Regions from separate parts of the Homo sapiens genome. Here region 1 is linked to region 2. Evidence: promoter capture Hi-C in human tissues and cell types (Jung and others, 2019). All regions are on one chromosome and are shown on one strand. Each heading gives the region's core, a stretch centred on a gene start or on the middle of the fragment in contact. The rest is flanking DNA. Distances are from core to core; before and after follow the strand shown.

Region 1 (5,138 bases), core at 474-2,973, 180 kb before region 2:
CAATCACCCCTACAGATTCTTCCTCTCCTATTGCCTGCCCTAAGCAAGACTCCAGGCATCCTAGCTACAGATGAAATCCAGTGTGGAGCTGGTCCAGGAGGGTCATGTTCCAGGCAGCAGAGGAGCACTCTGTGGGGTAGACGCTGAAGATCTGCTGAAGCATCTCATGGAGGACAGACAGGGCCTGGGCCTTCTGCAACTGGCTGCCATCCACATCTCCAGGGGGAACCTGAAGTCTCTTCTGTCCTTGAGACACAAGAAAGTGGAGATTCTCTGCATTTGGCCCAGAAGAGCCAAGGTGTTCCTGCTAAGTAGGCCATGGTTCTGAGGCAGGTCAAAGCCCAGAGATCCAACAGGGCCACAGTGGCAAAGCAGCAGGGCCACCAGTAGAAGCAGTAGGACCATTGGGAAACGAGGGTGCTGCTGGCCTAGCTGAGCTGGGGTCTGGATGAACCCTGGACTCCAGGTTCTCTCAAGGCATTCTTTTTATGCATGGCTTATAGTTGGAAACAAATAGTTTTCAGGGTTGGCCAAGACGGCCACCTAGAAGCTGCTAGTGTGTGCCACTCTCGTGGAGAGAAATGGAAGGGGCAAGTAAATACAGCACCTTCAACTGAAACATCCAGGTACACACATTGGGACTCAACAGCTTGACCCATGGAGAACAGAGCAAAGCAAGGCAGGACGACTGCCCACCAAGGAGTGTCACAGAGCCAGGGGAGCCTCTCCTTCCCAGGGAAGTGGTAAGTCAGCAGCCCTGGGGACCCATGCTTCTCTCACGGATCTTTGCAATCCTCAGATCAGGAGATCTCCTAGTGAACCCACTCTACCAGAGCCTTCAGTCTGACATGCAGGGCTACGTAGGGTTTCAGCAGAGCAGCTGCTCAGGCATGCATGGGTACCCTGGAGCCTTAGATACCCAGGCTTCCCCACAAAAGAAGCTATAACTCCAGCCAAGCAGGACGCTAGACCCCTATACATACCCCTAGGAAAGGGGTTTCATTCAGGGTGCTGGGCAGTGACAAGTGGCAGGCCCACCTTCCATGGCCTGTCTCAGGGTAAGACCCACTGGCTTGGGAATCCAGCCAGACACTGGTAGCAGCGTCACACCTCCCTGACATGGAGCTCCCACCGGCAGGGTGTGGGCTGCTATCTTTGCTGTTTCACAGCCTTAGCTATTGGAGCCTTTGTGTTCTAGGGAGTCCAAGGCAGCTAGGGACTGGAGCAGCCACCCAGCACAGCCCAGCAGCTCTACAGAGAAGCAGTCAGATTGCTTATTCACATCGATCCCAAATCCTGTTTCTTTTCTGTAGGTGGAATCTCCCCACTGGGGTCTCCAGTCACCTCCACCACTGTTTTCTAGTGGACCGCAGTTTCGAATATCCCTGGGATGGCGCTCCCAAAGGGAAGGGTAGGTAGCCTTTGTTGCCGTTTAGCAGCCTTAGCCATTCTTGAAAATGCCATTCTTCGTGCTGGCGGTGGTAGCAGACCCCCAGCACAGCACAGCTGCTCTACCAAAAAGTGGCCAGACTGTTTTTTCACCTGAGTCCCTGATACTGTTTCTCCTCAGTGGGTGAGATATCCCCACCGGGGTCTCCAGCCACCTCCTGCATGTATGTTGCAGGAGGCAACAGGTTGTACCTCTCTGGAACAGAGCTCCCAGGGGGAGGGGCAGGCCCTCATCTTCACTGTTTCATAGCCTTCACTGTTGATATCTTCAGGTACTGAAAAATGTGAAGTGACTATGGTCTGGATTGGACCCCCAGCATATTGCAGCAGCCCTATGGAAAAGTGGCCAGATTGTGTGTTATGTCGGTCCGTGATCCCCTCTCTCTTCACTGGGTGGGTCTGCCAGGCTTGGGTCTGCAGCTACCAGTTGGGGCTATTGAGCCAATGACAGCTCTGCATCTCCCTGGAACAGAGCTCCCAGTGAGAAGGGTGGGTTGCCATCTTTGCTTTCTCACAGCTCTTGCCCTTGCTGTCTCCAGGCTCTGGAGAGTCTGTAGGGAACAGTGGCTGGTCCAGATCCCCAAAACAGAGCAACTGCCTCACAGAAGAGTGACCATACTGTTCTCCATACAGTTCCTGGTTGTCACCTCTCCTCTGTGGGCAGATCCACCTGACCAGACTCCAGCACAGGCACCCTTCCCCTGCCTCATCTCCTCAATCAGGCAGTCCAGCATTTCTCAAAGGAAGAAATCCTACAGTCAACCCACAACCCATCCACCACTACTGTTGCAGTGGGACAGCCCCAGCAGCCCTCTGGCTGGGGAAGGAACAAAGGGCCTAGTCACTACACTCTCACCTCCAGCACACCATAGCCACCATACAAAGAGGAGTCCAGCCTTTCTTCCCTGAGAATCTGCATCCCTATTCTTCAGGAGGCAGGGCCCCCAGCCCATGACTGCAAAACAGTCAACCTACCCATAGCTGAGCATATCCACTGGTAGTTGCCTGGAGTTTCCCTGGGGAGAGGCTCCCACAGCCATCCTACCTCTGCCACTGCCACAGCAGCAGTTTTATCCCTGCTGCCTTGGGTCTGGGGAAGAAACAAAGAGTCTGAAGCTCTTTGTTTACGAGCTTGCAGCAAGCCACTGTCACATGAACTTACAGCACACTGCAGTTACCATATGGTGAGAACAGTCTCTCCTCCTGGTAAGATTGCCACCTTCTATTACCCAAAAAGTGAAGCCCCAAGCTTACACCAGCAGTGCAGCCACCCCACTCCTCTGGCTAAACACTGCCATTAACATGGCTTCACATTTCTTGGAGGTGGAGACCCCAGGGGCAACAGAAAGCCTGTCTACCACTGCCTCTGCAGTGGTACTACCCCAGCTACCTTGGAACTGATGAAGGAGCAGAGACCTCAAGTACCTTATCCATACCTCCAACAAGCTGCCGTCAACCCAAGAGAGGAGGCCAGTCTGTCTGCCATTGGTCAATCACCCACCCCTCACATCACCAGGCAGGGAACCCCTGGCTTGGGCCCACAGGACACACTCCCATCCCACGCTGATTGCACTGAGTGACTGCTGACCTGCTTCTCTGTGGTGGAGCCCCCCGGAGACAAGCAAAAGACCCTCAGTTACAACAACTACTAAGGTCCCTTCCTTCGATGGCTCCAAGTTGGGGAGAAAACATTAACCCTGAGATCACCCCAGAGCTGTTGTGGGCAGCCTGGGAGTGCCAAGATACAAGGTACAGTCAGCACTCAAGTGGGAGAGGAGCCCAAACTTTCAAAGCATTGAGATGGAGCACGTGTACAACCGTGAGGAAATGTAGGTGAGCCCCATGACTGAGCAAGAGCCTGACAACTGACCACTGCACCTAAGAGTCACCTACTAGGTCATGCCCAAAGCTTCAACACCAACAAATCTCACTAACACACCCTCATTCAACCAAAGACATGTCAGCTACAAATAAAGACCCTGCACAAAGCTACAGCCCTGTGAACACAGCCAGAAAATAAGTCTCTTTATTGATTGAACTCAAGCTACACTCCCATATGCAGAGATGAGAAAGAACCAATGCAAGAACTACAGTAACTCAAATGGACAGAGCATCTTATGTCCTCCAAATAATCACACTAGTTCTCCAACAAGGGTTCTTAACCAAAATGAGTTAGCTAAAATGACAGAAATATAATTCAGAATAGGGATAGAAAGGAATTCCATTGAGATTCAGGAAAACAGTAAAACCTAAACCAAGGAAACTAAGAATCACAATCAAAAGAGAGAAGAGTTGATAGCCAAATAGCCAGTATGAAAAAGAACCTAACGGACCTAGTAGATGTACACACTACAAGAATTTCACAATGCAATCACAAGTATTAACAGCAGAATAGACCAAGCTGAGGACAGAATCTCAGGACTTGAAGACTGGCTCTCTGAAATAAGACAATCAGACAAAAATAAAGAAAAAAGAATGAAGAGCAATGAACAAAACCTCCAAGAAATAGGGGGTGGTATAAAGAGGCCAAATCTAGGAATCACTTCCATCCTTTAAAGAGACAGGGAGAAAACAAACAACTTGGAAAATGTATTTCAGGATATAGTCTATGAAAGCTTCCACAATCTTGATAGAGAGATCACAAATCAAATTCCCTTGAAGTTCTACACCCAGATTGACCGGCTCTTCTCATTCCTAGTCTAGCACAATCCATAGAGGAAGGGATAAGTTAGGAGGTCCCGGGGAGGCTGGGCAGGCTGGAGGAAAGGGACATATCCAGACCCTTTCTCTTTCCCCATAGCTGTCCATTGCCCCAAGAGGACATGTCATGCCTGAAGCTGGGAGTATTTTCTCTCTCCACGATACAGAAGTTAAGGAAATGGGCTAATTCCAGTACCGTGATAGTTCTTTCTTGGGAAGAGCCTCTTTTTAGCTATGAAGATAAATATCCTGCCAGGAGGCCTACTTCTGCATTCACAGCCTGCTGTCCTCAGACTTGGCTGCTGTGTTGGTGCACTTTGACCAGTTGGTGGCTCTCTTTCCCTGTAAATCTTGTAATAGTCTCAAAGTAGAATGGAACCTGCGTTTTATTTCCTTTTTTGCTAAGCTACTGTTATGTCATTGCAACAGCGACATTCCGTGTTTTACAGAAATATTCATCATAAGAAAGGAAAAAGAGTATTTTATAAAAAGAGCTTCTGAAAAACCTAGAACTTTCACTGACCTTCTGCTTTAATTTGTGATTTTGTGCTCTTAAGGGAAAAGTGATGGGTAAAACCCACAAGAGAACTGAAAACAGCTGTATGAAGAGGCAGTGCAGGCTAATGATGAGTGAAGAAGAGAGCACAGTGCGCATTTCTAGAGGAAGAGGAAGGAAACTAATGTGATATGGGAGTGAAAAAATGGGATACAGAAAAGCATGGAGGAAAGGGAAAAGTGTGTCAGCTCTCAGAACCAGCAAAGATGTATATTTTACTTAAGTTTAGGAGAGTAACTTCATATGGGAGTGTACTCTGGGATTCTGAGAGCCAGGAAACAAATGTTCCAGGTGCCAGAATCAGTTAACCATCAACACGTGTATTCTGCACTTCAATCTAGATGCTGCTCCTCTGTCAGGTATTTATAGAAGCCACCATTTCCTGACTAAGTGTAAGTAGGACTTTGAAATGAGGTGAGACAATTTTTCAGCC
Region 2 (5,103 bases), core at 2,448-4,947:
ACAAGGAGAATCTTAAAAAATCACTGGATAAGGCGACATAATTATCACATTATTTAAGACACACTTAAAAAAATGGAAGGCCAAACGGAAGGAGTAAAGGCATAGTTTGCTCCAATTCTAGGCCTGTTTTTAGCAAGTATCTTTCCACCTATGCAAACACGTTATTTTTTTCCAACCCCATTTCTTTAGTTCTCTCCATATATTGCCCATCATGTTTGCCCGGTTTCTCAAAACAAGTGGTAAAATTAACTCAGCAGCAAACTCTGCTGGCCTGCAACATAAAAGGCATCAACCAGCTGGCAAGTCAGGTGACTCAGAGACTTTGGTATCACAGTCCTCCTCCTATAATACACTGGACTCTCCTCATTTCTCCAGAAGACCTTCCATTCCCACTTTTAATCCTTTTAGTGAGCCCTTCTAGATGTGGTCTCCCTGAGCTCTGAGCCTTAGTTCATTGGTTTAGTTCTGATTTAGCTCATGTCTCTAGCTTGTCATTGCTTAGTCTTAAACTTGGGCTAAGATAGAAATCTAAGGCCTTACGGATATTTGAATAAAAGGATAGAAATATGCAGGTTTTTACGGAGTTGTTTATGGATATATTACTAGGGTGAACAAAGAGTTTTGCAACTACATTCAAGTTTATGAATATACATTCTCAAAAAAACAAAACTAGTATATAACATGTAAATAAATTGGGGCCCATCTTTATTATAATGTAACATATCAGGCATAAACAAATAGGGCTTTTCAGTGAGGGAGAGGGTGAAGGAGCTGAAAAGAAAGGCCGTGACCTTCTTTATGTAGAACTGTACTAAGAAAACATTGACCGGGGTCTAGAAACCAGCTCTGGGTCTTATGGCCAGAAATAATTCCCAGGGAACATGTAAGAAATGAGGATTTAGAGTCAGATGTTTTGGGTTCCAACTGTAGCTCCACAACTCAATAGCTCCCTGTGCTTCTGGGTTTTCCTTTTGTAAAAAAGGACAACAGTACAACCTGTCAGTGTCTGCTTTGGTCACTGATATCTCTAGCAACTAAGTAGGGATGGGCATATAGTAGATGTTCAATAAAAATGAAAATGAGGGTATTTCTCATTGAATGAAGTGAAAATAGTTTTTGTAAGTGCTAAGAACAATATCTGATTGATAGCAAACATGATAAAATTTAGCAACTTTTTATTCTTCTTATTAGTGTTATCATTATTGTCCTTTTAAGTCAAGATAAGTTTCCTTTGAGATCATCTATTCCCTGGCTTCTTGTTAGATAGATATATTAGTCAGAGTTCTCCAGAGGGACAGAACTAAGAAGATATGTTTATATATAAGAGGGAGTTTATTAAGGAGAATTGACTCACACGGTCACAAGGTAAAGTCCCACCATAGGCTGTCTGCAGGTTGAGGAGCAAGGAAGCCAGTGGTGGATCAGTCCGTGTCCCAAAACCTCCCAAGTAGAGAAGTCAACAGTGCAGCCTTTAGTCTGTGGCCAAAGGCCTGAGACCCCCTTCCAAATCACTGGTGTAAGTCCAAGAGTTCAAAAGCTGAAGAACTTGGAGTCTGATTTCAAAGGCAGGAAGCATCCATCAGAAAGATGAAGGCCAGAATACTCAGCAAGTCTCCTCTTCCATCTTCTCCTCCCTACTTAATTCTAGCCATGCTGGCAGCTGATTAGATGGTGCCCACAGTGACTGAGTGTGGGTCTGCCTCTCGCAGTTCACTGACTCAAATTTTAATCTCCTTTGGCAATACCCTCACAGACACACCTAGGAACAACACTTTGCATCCTTCAATTCAATCAGGATAACACTCAATGTTAACCATCACAACAGATAACATGCAATATACTGATCTTCTGAGTTTATCTGTCTACTAGTGGAGAACTTGAGATAATTATACTTGTCCATTCTACAGACAGAATATTGTGCTCTTACAAATTTGCCTTTCTGGTGCACAGTGTCTTATGTTTGGTTCATCACCCTCAACTGTCTAGTAAGGCTGAATTCACTAAAGCTGAAAACATCCCCTTGGACCAGTAATGATTACTTTTCTTTGAGCTCCTGCCCATTTGCTACCTTTGTTCTACATCTCTTGCACCATTTTGCTTCTGCTCTTCCTCACCCCTTAATGTCCATCTAATCTGGGCTGAATATCCAAGTTATATTTTGTTAGTTGTTTTTCTCCTTTGGGATGTTACTTCCATTCTTATGTTTTTATCACATTTAGTTATACATTTGTTTTCTTTTTGCTCTCATTTATTGGGATACAAAAAGCAACAACTTTTGCTTTCTGTGAAAAAGGAAATGAGAAAGATATCTGGTATCCTGCATGCTATGTACAACAATTGCACACCTCATTTACTTTATCATACTTAGATATTATTATTTACCTTAGGAAACAGATGGCTTTTTTTATTTTATAAGAATGAACTAGAATTGGGATGTCCCCAGGTTCTTTGGGAAATCTAAACATTAATGCAAAAATTGTTTTGAAAAATATAATTGATGTTTTCTCAATTGTGTATTCTCATTGGGGATGATATTGCTCCTAAGGGCACAAACCTTAGTTCTTGTGGTGTGAACAAATTGTAGATATTATATTCGTTTATGGCCCCTCAATGCAGAACTCTAAGACAACCCTATCCTGTAGTGTTTATTTTCTTTCACTTGGTTTTCTTATGTATTACATGAAAAGACTGATATTGAGTTCATGGAAGATACACAAAATGTATGTGAGATTAGTGTTGCAAACCAATGTGAAATAGATGGTTGTCACTGGTGGACTTTCCACTATGTGCTCAATCTCAGAGTCATACCATGTGATGTGGTCTCCATCGGCATATGAATGGGCTGCCATTGGCTGTCTTGGGTATGTAGCTTATGTTTGATCCTCAGTGCTTTCAAGTGTATTATACTCTTTTATACAAATGTTTTTATTTTATGATTAAATTGTATAAAACTTTTTCAAACATCACTACTTATAGGAAGTGCTGAAAAGAAAAATATGTTGACTATATCTGGATGAAAATCTAGCAGTTAGTGAAGGTAAAAATCATTTTCTATATGAAGCAAAGCTAAAAGTTAAGTATAATAAATTAAATGTTACAGGAATAATTTAATTTTAAATAGCCCCTTAGCAGTTTTGGGAGATTTTTAAGTATTTTTATTTTTTTGATATTACATATTTTATATAAGTATTTTTATTATATTGGTATTATATATTTTCATATATTATAACTTTGCATGTTTCACTTGATTCATTAATATTTATATAAGTATATATACTAGAAGTCACTCAGCAAATAACTTTTATAAAGTTAAATGCCAATAGCTTTTAAATTTAACTTTTGACATAAAATTTTTACTTATTCTTAATGCTGCATTGCATAAAAAAGTAAACTGTCCACTTTGTTTTCTAAAGCATGGATAGGAATGTAGTACATTCAAATATGTGCATAATATATCTGTGTTATTAAATTATCAGGAGGGGTTTACTTAGAAAAAAATTATCAAACAGGACTCTGGAGGTTGAGAAAGGGAATGCAGTAATGAAAAGAAAACTGGTTGAGAAACACTTTCCTAAGCCCATGTAGAGAGTACATAAAGGAAAGCAAAAACAGAAGTAGAAAAAAAAAATGCAGTAGCATTCAGAAAATGGAAACAAATATGTTCCCTATATAAGGCGGTGTACAAACCAAAGTCTTCAGAGACCCAGGTTAAGGGTCATCCATCTGAACCAGCTCAGCAGCATCCACAACATCTACAATGGCCTTGACTTTTTATTTACTGGTGGCCCTAGTGGTGCTCAGCTACAAGTCATTCAGCTCTCTGGGCTGTGATCTGCCTCAGACTCACAGCCTGGGTAACAGGAGGGCCTTGATACTCCTGGCACAAATGCGAAGAATCTCTCCTTTCTCCTGCCTGAAGGACAGACATGACTTTGAATTCCCCCAGGAGGAGTTTGATGATAAACAGTTCCAGAAGGCTCAAGCCATCTCTGTCCTCCATGAGATGATCCAGCAGACCTTCAACCTCTTCAGCACAAAGGACTCATCTGCTGCTTTGGATGAGACCCTTCTAGATGAATTCTACATCGAACTTGACCAGCAGCTGAATGACCTGGAGTCCTGTGTGATGCAGGAAGTGGGGGTGATAGAGTCTCCCCTGATGTACGAGGACTCCATCCTGGCTGTGAGGAAATACTTCCAAAGAATCACTCTATATCTGACAGAGAAGAAATACAGCTCTTGTGCCTGGGAGGTTGTCAGAGCAGAAATCATGAGATCCTTCTCTTTATCAATCAACTTGCAAAAAAGATTGAAGAGTAAGGAATGAGACCTGGTACAACACGGAAATGATTCTTATAGACTAATACAGCAGCTCACACTTCGACAAGTTGTGCTCTTTCAAAGACCCTTGTTTCTGCCAAAACCATGCTATGAATTGAATCAAATGTGTCAAGTGTTTTCAGGAGTGTTAAGCAACATCCTGTTCAGCTGTATGGGCACTAGTCCCTTACAGATGACCATGCTGATGGATCTATTCATCTATTTATTTAAATCTTTATTTAGTTAACTATCTATAGGGCTTAAATTAGTTTTGTTCATATTATATTATGTGAACTTTTACATTGTGAATTGTGTAACAAAAACATGTTCTTTATATTTATTATTTTGCCTTGTTTATTAAATTTTTACTATAGAAAAATTCTTTATTTATTCTTTAAAATTGAACTCCAACCCTGATTGTGCAAACTGATTAAAGAATGGATGGTACAATTCCTTTATCCATGCTTATTACATTCAAATTATAAGTAAAAATGAACTTTGTCTAAATTAGGTTGTATGTTGCCCTCAAGATATCCAGGTGAACATAACAAATACAATTCCCGCTCTCTCATATCTTTGTTTTTTGTTGGGAAAGAAAACTAAAAACAGTAATCATACTTAATATCAGTTATGTCTAATGCTATCATGAGAAGAAAGAACCAATGAATTTATCTCACCAGAAGGTAGACCAAGGCATGTGAGGAAATAAAAATAAACGCAGAGATATCCTCTATATGCTAACTGGTAGACATCTAAGTGAAAATGTGCACTACCAGTTGGATA

What was found. The method cuts DNA at HindIII sites, captures the fragments that hold promoters and counts their contacts. A contact is called where the count stands out against the background at its distance.
Region 1: a contact is called between a fragment that was not itself captured here and the fragment with the promoter of IFNA8 in region 2, in 1 of the 25 tissues and cell types used here (lymphoblastoid cells).

What each region holds. Positions count from the first base shown.
Region 1 is chr9:21,231,449-21,236,586 of GRCh38, forward strand. It overlaps the pseudogene IFNWP5. Among named protein-coding and RNA genes, the nearest start is that of IFNA17, 5.8 kb to the left of the region's middle. The HindIII fragment of the contact is 6,389 bases long and covers 1-4,918 here.
Region 2 is chr9:21,405,420-21,410,522 of GRCh38, forward strand. IFNA8 (interferon alpha 8) reads left to right here and starts at 3,698. Exons shown (of 1, transcript NM_002170.4): 1 at 3,698-4,766. The coding sequence starts at 3,758. The coding sequence ends at 4,327. The HindIII fragment of the contact is 21,883 bases long and covers 1-5,103 here.